2 separate regions of the Homo sapiens genome follow, and region 2 is linked to region 1. The links are contacts of gene promoters, found by promoter capture Hi-C in blood cells and fetal thymus (Javierre and others, 2016). All regions are on one chromosome and are shown on one strand. The core of a region is centred on a gene start or on the middle of the fragment in contact, and the rest is flanking DNA. Distances in the headings are between cores, read along the strand shown.

What was found. Contacts are between HindIII fragments. The CHiCAGO score rates a contact against its expected background, and 5 or more counts as called.
Region 2: a contact is called between a fragment that was not itself captured here and the fragment with the promoter of NXPH1 in region 1, in 1 of 17 cell types (endothelial precursors). The highest score is 5.7, in endothelial precursors.

The regions. Positions count from the first base shown.
Region 1 is chr7:8,431,431-8,437,061 of GRCh38, forward strand. NXPH1 (neurexophilin 1) reads left to right here and starts at 2,179. Exons shown (of 3, transcript NM_152745.3): 1 at 2,179-3,325; 2 at 4,174-4,337. The coding sequence starts at 4,284. RefSeq lists enhancers at 2,743-3,290, 3,291-3,838, 3,839-4,386. The HindIII fragment of the contact is 6,580 bases long and covers 863-5,631 here.
Region 2 is chr7:9,655,713-9,662,064 of GRCh38, forward strand. All of the region lies in intron 1 of LOC105375148 (a long non-coding RNA gene), which reads left to right. All of the region lies in intron 3 of LOC105375145 (a long non-coding RNA gene), which reads right to left. Among named protein-coding and RNA genes, the nearest start is that of MGC4859, 1.1 Mb to the right of the region's middle. The HindIII fragment of the contact is 169 bases long and covers 1,753-1,921 here.

The DNA.
Region 1 (5,631 bases), core at 929-3,428:
AATTGGTACAAACACTATACTTCTTAAGGTAATCACACTTTTGTTCTCACTCAATGAAGCTGACTGTTCATGTATTCTAAGAGTGCATTTTAGAGTAGGATACTACTTGAAACAGAAGAATGTAAGAAAATCATGCTTTTATTGCTCCATTGTTCTTTATAAAGCAAATGATAGGAAAAAAGGAGGGTGAATGAACCATTCTTGTCCACTTCTCCCCCAATATTATATTATTAAAACTGGAGTGGTTTAGCAGAAACGATACATTTTTCTGTGTTACTTGGTGGCTCGGTATCCTTTTCTGGTTGAGTATTATAGGAGATGAAGACCCCTGTGAAATATGAAAAATGACAATCCGCCACTGTTTTATATCACAGGCCAAGTATCTCATAGGATCCAGCGAAGGTTGAATGTCTGGGCAGAAGATCTCAGGTCATTAACAGAAAAAGCTCTTTGGCATCCTGTGTCATAGAACAAAGTGTCAAACCTGTTCCCATTACTAGGTGCCTGTGGTGCTTTTCTTAAATAATCAGTCCCATTCAGACAGACATTTTAAGGTCTCTGATCATCTTTCTATTTCACAAGCAGTATTTTTTTAAGGCTAAATGGCACTAGAAGCAGAATGTTTTTAAAGTAAGGTTTAGAAAAGAACTTGGTATATTCCAAAGCTAGCCGGATTCTTTCTCATTTTCCCAAAGGTCAGACAGAAGTTCAGCTCTGACAGCATTGTAGCTGGGAATCCAGATAGAGGCAGGCAACATTTGCTCCAGCTCTACACTCCAGTCTGGGAGGCCTGGGAGCTCCTGTACAAATAGGAATCAATTTTAGGATAGCCTTATGAATCCTAGAGGATGGAATTAGACAAAGCTTTTTTTGCCCCTGCTTTGACCATTTGGCCTCAGATACGGGTGCCCCAATACTTTAATTTTTCTTCTTTAAAGTTTAAAGTTTTTAAGAAAATGAAATAGCTGGTAAGTGAAAATAGTCAAGAAAACATTGTAATTATGCTATATGTACATGTGCGTTTTTTCTGAAGTGGATTTTCAGAGACACAGTTAGAAGGTGTGCTTCACTGCTTTATTCTGCATATGCCCCAATGAATTCCAGGAGGTCACAGCAGCAGAGTACAACTTTTAAGATTAGAAGAGCTTGCTCTTTAAAGAGTTATTTTTAGCTGGAAGGGAGAGTGTAGACCTCAAAGTGCTGGTAGGTATGTTCTACAGTGGGGATCTAATTTGGAGGTCTTTGGAGATCTGATTCCAGGGGAAGGTCTCAGTGGGGCTCCTCTTGCCTCTGCTGCAGGACTGGGTGGCTCTGCTGATTGTCACTGCCTTGTTTGAGGGGTGGTCTCCATCATCCAGGGGAATTCAGCCTGGGACCTATTGTCTAGAGTGTACATTGTATCTAGGCCCAGACCTGCCAGAGTGTCCACAGCCACACTTGAGGAAAGGACATTCCAGACTCATTAAATATCACAATTCGATTTTGATGTCACTAACTCAGGTTCCTGAGATAAATTTCCATACAATTCCTACAGATTGATATGGATATGTGCATCACCCCAGGAGAGGCTCTGGTGAAGGGCAGGCTTGGAGATGCAATGGGCAAGGTTGGGGAAGAGATACCCTCTTCCGGGTTCCGATTTGTGCCCTGAATTTGGGCAAGCTCAAGGAGCACTGGCAACCCCACCAGCACCAGAAGAAGCTGGTCCTGGCTGTCTCCCGAGACTGGTGAAACTGCTCTGGTGGTGGTGCACTGGAAGGGTGGAGGAAAAAAAACAAAAAACAAAACAGGGTTTGAGGGGGAATGGCAGGGACACGGTAGAGGCACAGAGATACAGAGACCTAGAGTCAGAAATCCTGAGTGAGACACACAGAAAGGCAGAAAAAGGCAGAAAGATGCTGAGGGACAGAGACGCAGACCACAAGAATGACAGAAGAAGGAGACAGAGAGAGAGAGGGAGTGAGAAAGATACTGAGAAATAGGGACAGTAAGGGAGAGACTGAGAAAGACAGAGACAGCCAGAGTCGGAGCACAGAGGCCGAGTCTGGGAGACGCTGGTTGAGTGGGAGGTGTCAGTAGCGAGGGAGGTGGTGACGGCTCGAAGCATCCCCCGTCCTCCTCCTCCCCCTTCACGCTCAGCCCAGCCGGCGGCGAGGAGTCCAGAGGCCAAGGTCGCCCAGTCCTCTCGGCTGTCTCGAGCTGAATGGCTGGCAGTCTGCGGCTCCCCCGCCTCCGGCCCGGCAGCCACAGGTCGGAGGCGCCCGGCGTCGGCGCTCGAGGCCGGCAGGGGCGCCCTGCACCCTCCCGCGCCCTTCCCCGCCCTACGCGACTCCCGGCTGCTCTTCCCGCCACTCCCCTGGGCTTTGCGATCTTCCCTACGCCCCCCGGGAAGGGGGCGCTGCGGCCACCGAAGACACCGCGGGAGCCACTTGTCCCTGTGGGCCCAGCCCGCGAGAGCCTGAGAGCCGGATCTGTTTACACAGGGTACTAATTAGTCTTTGAGGAATCATTCACCCACGTGCCAAAGTAATTGTCCGTGTCAGGAAGGTAGGCGTGCCAAGCCGCGGCTCTGCGGAGAAACCACGACCACCGCGGCCGCCGGAAACCCAAAGCGCTCCAGAGCGTCCCCGGGTGGCCGGGCAGCACCAGGGACAGCGCCCGGGACTCCACTGGGGACCGGCTCCTGGGCTTCCCAGCGTCGCGGGTAGAGGTACAGCTGCTCCGTGTGCCGCAGGCTCCAGATTCTCGCCACCCCACCCCTCCCTCAGAAACTCGGACTGCTCTCGTCTGCCGTGTGGTTCTCTTTTCTTCCGAAAGGCCAGTGTCTTATCTCTCCACTTCAAGTCCAGAGGACTTGCTCAGTCTCCTCCCCTTAAGTCATTTCCACCATCCTCAGGCAGCTGTGGGAAGCCGAGAGTCCTGGACTGTTCGTCCGGGTGCCAGCGCTGGCAGTCCCAGTCCGTCCGGTGCAGCAGCCCGGCGCATTCCCCTCTCTCCCTCCCTCTTGCTCTCCCTCCCTTTCTGTCTTCCTCTCTTTCCTCCTCTACTGCTCCCTCCCTCTCTTGCCTCTTAAGTTTCCTGCACCGTGAATCCAACTGTGCCAAGCCTTGGCTCCCGCGAACCAATCCTGAGCGCGACCCGGGCACTGGGACGGCGACTCCGCCAAAGCTGGACGAGGCAGCCGGACCCGTCTGCGCTCGAGCATGGAGACGGAGCGCCTGGGAGGGCACGTCCGGGGCGCTGGAGACGCCAGGCCCGAGTAGCTTCTCCATGGAGCCTGCCCAGAGCGGTCCCTTCTCGCAGGATTCGCCCCAAGTCCTGTGCGGTACGTACCCTTTGCCTCCGCTGTTCCCGGAGGGTACACCTGGGAGCGGGGTGGTGGGCACGAGGAAGGGACGGCAGGGAGGGGCGCTGGTTAGGAAAGAGAACAAGCCTGGCAGGTGACCCTCACAGCTCGGAGGAGGCTTCTTCTCTAGAAGTTAGCGACCGGCTGTACCCTTTGGCTCGAAAAAAGTAGTGCTAGAGATGTGACTGTGAGCATTCGTGGGTATCTCTGTGTGCGCCAGGGGTTCGAATGGGTAAACTGATCCCTGCTTTCCTGTATGCAAATTGCATTCTCTTTCCCCACCCCCACTTCACCGAACGTGTTGAGGTACCTAGCACCTAATCGCGGTCAGTTCTACCTACCTCTTCCTCTCACCGCGCCCCCCTCGCTCAATCTCTCTCTCTCCCTTTATCTTTCCCCTCTATCTCTCTCTGCTGGTGTGTACGTGTGTGAGCACTGCCAGGGCTGGCGAAGAACCAGCCGCCGCCTTTAGTCCGAGCCGCCGGGCCACCCAACACAAGGGCAGGTCTCGCTGCCGGAGAAGCCTGGGCTCCGAACCAGCCTGCACGCGGCTCAGTGTGCTCCGCCGCCTGGGAACTCGCACCCGAGGAGCGCAGGGGGCAAGGAGCCCCTCACCCTCCCTCTCGTCCGCCCGCCCGCCTCCCCAGCTGCGGACCGCGCGCTTGCTGGTCTCAGGCGCTGGATTTACTCGCTTTTCAATTTTTCGTACCCTCCCTCCCTTTTTTTTTTGGTCCCCCACTCCCCGCTACGACCCCCTTTCCCCGCTTGATTGTCAAGCCTAACCTTGCCCGCGTAGTCATGGGATGTCTAATTTTATTTGCATCTAGGCTGCTGAGAGCGCTCCTTGCTCTGTAAAGTGGATGTCAGGTGGATCTATGTTTCTGAAGGAACAAAGACTCAAAGAAGGCACCGCCAAGGAAGTTTGAGACGCGGGAGAATGCAGGCTGCGTGCTGGTACGTGCTTTTCCTCCTGCAGCCCACCGTCTACTTGGTAAGTCTTGGAAGGTTCGGGGCTTTCGCATTTTTACCCCGGCCGGGAGGCAAGGAAACTGGGGACACGCGGGAGAAGGGTTACGCCGCCAGTTCAGTGAGAGCAGCTTCCTAGCAGCTGTGTTGGAGCAACTTTGGCAAGCTGGTCTCTGGATTCCTGCGGATTTTCCGGGGTTCCCACCCCATTTTCTGCTCCAATCCCCCAGTCTCCTGCGCGTGATTCTTGAAAGGGGCTAGGGCGCCCCAGACACCCTAAACCCAAGGAGGTAGTGAGATGGGGTGCTTTATGTGATAGAGGGCCAACGAGAAGAAGTGGAAGGCAGGAACTCTCAGTAGCTCATGCACAGAGTTTAAACGAAGGGAAGTGGGGGTGTAGTTGGGTGGTGGAAAGAACAAATCTGCCCAGGTCTGTGAGTTTAAAAGTGAATCTACCCACCCACTTCCCCGATTTGGAGATGAGACACATAAAGAAGCGCAGTTAACTTTCTTTGACTTGTAAGGGTTCCGACAGGATAAGTTTAACTATCAGGGGTACTGCAAGCAATCGGAGTTAGGACAGAGATACTCCAGCAAACATGTCCACCTTCCTCTCGTCTCGACCTCCCCTTTTCATCAAATAACTAAATCCCATCTCCAGTGACTAGTCCATTATTAGGGAATGGTAGGCCTTGTCGCCAGGGAGAGAATTCTAAACAAAGCCGCGGTCCTTGTCCTTCAGTAGCAGAGTTTTCCGGGGGGCTGGACTTTGTACACTGCTGGAACTCGGCTCCTGGTTGAAGAGCTTTGTTGTGGTGAATTGGTAGCTGTTTGTGCCATGTTGAGACAAGGAGAATGAGATATTTCAGGTCTGGCTTCTGGGGTGGGAATGGGGGAATGGGGGTAAGGGACACTTGTGCCCTGCTGGTGAAGTTGTGTTCAGTGTCCCGACCCCCATAGCCCATCCTGGGCTGCGGGAGTGCACCGAGGGCTCGCTATGTTCTGTCTAGGGGTGAGGTGCGCTAAAGCAGCCCGAACTCTCTGATGGGCTACACCTCTGATTGGAGGTGATACTGGCGCTCCTCAATCCCAAGAGCCTTAGATAGAACCCATAAGCCTGAAAGAATTGCCATCCCTACAATTGACAGCGTTTCTCGGCCGTTGCCCTGGTGCATGTGGCTGCAAAGCTGCGAGTTGTGTGAATTCTGTGTATGTGAGTGACACGTATATATATGTGTGTGTGAATGTGTATTTAACCGATTTCAGCTTCAATCCAAGAACCCTCAATGTTGCCTGTCTTTGCCCCTTTATCGCCTGAC
Region 2 (6,352 bases), core at 587-3,086, 1.2 Mb after region 1:
CCCTACAAAGGACATGAACTCATCCTTTTTTATGGCTGCATGGTATTCCATGGTGTATATGTGCCACATTTTCTTTTTTTTTTTTTTTTTTTTTTTTTTGAGACGGAGTCTCGCTCTGTCGCCCAGGCCGGACTGCGGACTGCAGTGGCGCAATCTCGGCTCACTGCAAGCTCCGCTTCCCGGGTTCACGCCATTCTCCTGCCTCAGCCTCCCGAGTAGCTGGGACTACAGGCGCCCGCCACCGCGCCCGGCTAATTTTTTGTATTTTTAGTAGAGACGGGGTTTCACCTTGTTAGCCAGGATGGTCTCGATCTCCTGACCTCATGATCCACCCGCCTCGGCCTCCCAAAGTGCTGGGATTACAGGCGTGAGCCACTGCGCCCGGCCATGTGCCACATTTTCTTAATCCAGTCTATCATTGTTGGACATTTGGCTTGGTTCCAAGTCTTTACTATTGAGAACAGTGCTGCAATAAACATATGTGTGCATGTGTCTTTATAGCAGCATGATTTATAATCCTTTGGGTATATACCCAGTAATGGGATGGCTGGGTCAAATGGTATTTCTAGTTCTAGATCCCTGAGGAATTGCCACACCGACTTCCACAATGGTTGAACTAGTTTACAGTCCCACCAACAGTGTAAAAGTGTTCCTATTTCTCCACATCCTCTCCAGCACCTGTTGTTTCCTGACTTTTTAATGAGTGCCATTCTAACTGGTGTGAGATGGTATCTCATTGTGGTTTTGATTTGCATTTCTCTGATGGCCAGTGATGATGAGCATTTTTTCATGTGTCTGTTGGCTGCATAAATGTCTTCTTTTGAGAAGTGTCTGTTCATATCCTTCGCCCACTTGTTGATGGGGTTGTTTTTTTCTTGTAAATTTGTGTGAGTTCTTTGTAGATTCTGGATATTAGCCCTTTGTCAGATGAGTAGATTGCAAAAATTTTCTCCCATTCTGTAGGTTGCCTATTCACTCTGATGGTAGTTTCTTTTGCTGTGCAGAAGCTCTTTAGTTTAATTAGATCCCACTTGTCAATTTTGGCTTTTGTTGCCATTGCTTTCAGTGTTTTAGACATGAAGTCCTTGCATTCAAATTCAGGAAATACAGAGAACACCACAAAGATACTCCTCGAGAAGAACAACTCCAAGACACGTAATTGTCAGATTCACCAAAGTTGAAATGAAGGAAAAAATGTTAAGGGCAGCCAGAGAGAAAGGCCGGGTTACCCACAAAGGGAAGCCCATCAGACTAACAGCTGATCTCTCGGCAGAAACTCTACAAGCCAGAAGAGAGTGGGGGCCAATATTCAACATTCTTAAAGAAAAGAATTTTCAACCCAGAATTTCATATCCAGCCAAACTAAGCTTCATAAGTGAAGGAGAAATAAAATCCTTTACAGACAAACAAATGCTGAGAGATTTTGTCACTACCAGGCCTGCCTACAGGAGCTCCTAAAGGAAGCACTAAACATGGAAAGGAACAACCAGTACCAGCCACTGCAAAAACATGCCAAATTTTAAAGACCATCAATGCTAGGAAAAAACTGCGTCAACTAACGAGCAGAATAACCAGCTAACATCATGATGACAAGATCAAATTCACACATAACAATATTAACCTTAAATGTAAATGGGCTAAATGCTCCAATTAAAAGACACAGACTGGAAAATTGGAAAACTTGTTTTAAAAGAGCAAGTACACCAGATCAAACTATTCTTCCTAAATCCCTCTCATGCCCTCTACTGACCAAGCTTAATATGGAGCTTACTGCAAAACTGAAATGCATCAATCCAACTCATTATCGCAGGTACTGAGGGGCAAATTTGAAACGGAGAGGTAATTAGCTGATATCTGGCATAATCTGGAAGAGGAAGAACAATGCAGGAAGACTTGCTCTATAAAATATAAGGAATCATAAAGCTTTAATAATTAAGTATAGTATTGCTGTGGGGATAGGCAAAGTAAACAACAGAATGGAATAGAAAGGGTGAAACAGACAAACATAAAACTATGACCAAAAAAGTGGCTCTTAAATATAGAAAAATAAAACTTTTACTAAATATATAAAAAATGTTTTAAAAAATGTTGCCTTATCTGATATTATAGGTAGATCACAGTTCTGAATGTGAAGGAGAAAGAGTAATGCTAATATGTAATAACATCATTTCCATAGGATAAAAAGATTTGTATTGAGGAAAAGTATACTTCTCATGAAAAAAAGATTATCGAATTGGACTTCTCTAAAATTAATACAATCTAGGCATCAAAATATATCACAAAGAATGTGAAAAGACAACTCAGAATAAGGGAAGATATTTGAAATACATGCCTATATCCATAAGGTATGAAAAACACCTACCTATCAATGTTTAAAAAAAGGAAAAAGAAAATTTCACAACAGACTTGACTAGGTACTAGAAAATATTGGACAACAAAATGGCAAACACAAAGATACTCAACCTTGTTATAATCAAGGAAATGAAGATTGAAACCACATGAGATAGCACTACAGCTATACCAAAATAGCTAACAGACAAATGTCTGTGAAGACATGGAACAATGAGAATATGAATTGTTCTAATCATTTTAGACAAATGTTTGACTTTCAGGTTAAGTATATGTAGCCCTTAAGACCTAGCAGTTCTACGCTATTTATTAATATATACATCACAGAAATATGTGCACAAGTACTTGAAGAAACACATACAGAAATGTTTCCAGCAGCATTATCTACAATAGAAGCTAAAATCAACCTATGTTTATCAACATTACAAACAATAAATAAATGTTAATTTAATGGAATATGATAGAGCAGTAAAACCAACTAAAAATAGAGCTACATAAATATATTGATAGAAAGAAGCCAGATGGATAAGAATACATACTTCAATATTCTATTTATGAAAGTCCAAAACAGGTAAAAGATACACAGTGTTTTAAAAGACAGTTTAACTTTGGAGAAGACAAGGATAATAATTGGAAGAAGGACATAAAAGGAGACTCCAGTGTGCTGGAAATGTTCTGTTTTAAGAACAGGGTAATAGTTACACAAGTGAGTTTGTTTTGTACAAATTTATTGGGTAAATATATATTTTATTCTTGACAGTAGATCAACTACAACCTGAGTTTTAGATAATTTTTAATACTTTTCACTCATTTTTAATGTCCTATGGTAGACAGGATGAATGAGATAGAGATCCAACAACTTAAGAAATACAATTTCCACGATATTGATTCTTCCTATCCCTGAGCATGGAATGTTCTTCCATTTGTTTGTGTCCTCTTTTATTTCGTTGAGCAGTGGTTTGTAGTTCTACCTGAAGAGGTCCTTCACATCCCTTCTAAGTTGGATTCCTAGGTATTTTATTCTCTTTTAAAATGACCATACTGCCCAAGGTAATTTATAGATTGAATGCCATCCCCAGCAAGCTACCAATGACTTTCTTCACAGAATTGGAAAAAAAAGTACTTTAAAGTTCATATGGAACCAAAAAGGAGCCAGCATTGCCAAGACAATCCTAAGCCAAAAGAACAAAGCTGGAGGCATTGTGCTACCTGACTTCAAACTATACTACAAGGCTACAGTAACCAAAACAGCATGGTACTGGTACCAAAACAGAGATATAGACTATTGGAACAGAACAGAGCCCTCAGAAATAATACCACACATCTACAACCATCTGATCTTTGACAAACCTGACAAAAACAAGAAATGGGGAAAGTATTCCCTATTTAATAAATGGTGCTGGGAAAACTGGCTAGCCATATGTAGAAAGCTGAAACTGGATCCCTTCCTTACTTGTACAAAAATTAGTTCAAGATGGATTAAAGACTCACATGTTAGAACTAAAACCATAAAAACCCTAGAAGAAAACCTAGGCATTACCATTCAGGACATAGGCATGGGCAAGGACTTCATGTCTAAAACACCAAAAGCAATGGCAACAAAAGCCAGAATTGACAAATGGGATCTAATTAAACTAAAGAGCTTCTGCACAGCAAAAGAAACTACCATCAGAGTGAACAGGCAACCTACAGAATGGGAGAAAATATTTACAATGTACCCATCTGACAAAGGGCTAATATCCAGAATCTACAAAGAACTTAAACAAATTTACAAGAAAAAATCAAACAACCCCATCAAAAAGTGGGCAAAGGTTATGAACAGACACTTCTCAAAAGAAGACATTTATGCAGCCAAAAGACACATGAAAAAATGCTCATCATCACTGGCCATCAGAGAAATGCAAATCAAAGCCACAATGGGATACCATCTCACACCAATTAGAATGGCGATCATTAAAAAGTCCGGAAACAACAGGTGCTGGAAAGGATGTGGAGAAACAGGAACACTTTTACACTGTTGATGGGACTGTAAACTAGTTCAACCATTGTGGAATACAGTGTGGCGATTCCTCAAGGATCTAGAACTAGAAATACCATTTGACCCAGCCATCCAGTACTGGGTATATACCCAAAGGATTATAAATCATGCTGCTCTAAAGCCAAATGCACATGTATGTTTACCTGACTGTATTATAGTTGTTCTGAGTATAAATTATAATGTGATAAAGAGGAAAAAACAAATAGGCAAAACTCAAAATATGAAAATTAATTTTCTGTGGGATGCTTGAGAAAACCATTTGAAACCTATTTCTTGAACTAAAAGTTTAATACAGCACATATTCAGAATATGAATAAAAAATAAATTTAATGTACAAAATATCAAAGTGTTTAATTTCTAAATAAAAATCATATTATTAAATAGCATATATTATAGAAAGTACCTGAATAGCTTTACATTAACTGGAACTGAATAACAATAAAAACATGGTAAGAGAAAAATGACTGTGTCTTGTGCCCAAATTCTGGGATACACAGACTATCTAAAGACATAGAATTTTTCTCATAGAGCATCTGAAATATTCATAGATCCTCCACTGGAATAAATTTATTGCTGCTATAAGGTATATAAAATGTTGATAAACTGCTTTCCTGACCTTGGAGAACTTTGTTGGCATATTAAGAGACTTTGATACATAGCAGAATGCAGACATGCTTTGTGATTTGTTGGATGCCTTGCTCTAGGTCTGCACTATTAGGTTCGTGGGAAACAAGGGGAAGCTTTAGAGAAGGCAGTATGTGCCAATGAGCGATAGTCTCACTGGCAAATGCCCCAAGTGAAAAACTCTGGGGATTTGAATGTTAAGCAAGTTCATTTAAACACCACACAACCCCAAACTTTATGACACATATATTGTTCCCTGCAGTATATCTCTTTGATTTTCTGCTGTCTCTTTGCTTTCCTCACTGGTAACATAGCATTTGACCCCCTGTACCTTGTTTACAAAGCATTGCCTTATGCAGCACATTGGGGCTCTAATGAGTGACAGCCATAGCTGGAGAGACTACAATAGTGAAAAGTAAAACCAAGCAGAGTTTTAATAACATGAGTCCTGAGCCCTATTAGCTCTACAGAAATGTCCTTGGAATATAAAGGCTTCAATGACAAACTGGGGTATGGAAAGTGGGAAATGCTGAAACGAAGTAAGCATTGGAAAAATCAATTGTCAAAATTCATTTTTACTTTATATCCCAGAAGCCTCCTTTTAAAACCCACTCACTACAAGATGTCTAGGAAGGGCTTTTAAATCATATTGTTTTCCTCTAATATTTAATTTGTAACTTTCATCTGTTTTATCAATGGGTGAGTTCAAGGTTAAAAAGTATACCTAGGCAACAAAAATATAATCAATTCACAAGTAATGAGACACAAAACTTAATATTTCCCATTTATTCCAATGTATCATTTATCGGATATTTCAGTGCTTTCCCACATAAAATCTATGCTGTTTTATTGACAAAAAAAATTCTATCATTTTTTTTTTCTGTTTTAAGAAAGATAATTAGGTGTATTTAAAAATATTTGTAATAAAGGAAAGGAGATTTTCTTCCTAATGGACTCGATGGACTCGGATCATGCTTATACAAGTCCTAGACCACCAGTAGTAAAATAACAATGGATAAAATTCCCTTTCCTGCTTCTTGCTTTGAATTTAGCAAGGATTACGTTTCAGCTATGTAGGTTCTACCCAGAAATACATTATATGTTCTTTTGATTTACCAATTAGCCTTGCATATCTGTGGATGCCTGAGAAGACAACACTAGCGCTGTGGGTTTTTCTCCATTCTTGTGCTATCAGCAAGTGCATTCTTGGTTTACAACTAGGAGACAAACATCTGGGACTCTCCTTGTGCTGTCTATAGTGGAGGTGGGAGCATTTATGCCTGCTAGACCAATAGTGAACTAGTGAACTAGTTAATTATTGGCTTTTTAATAAAAGTCATA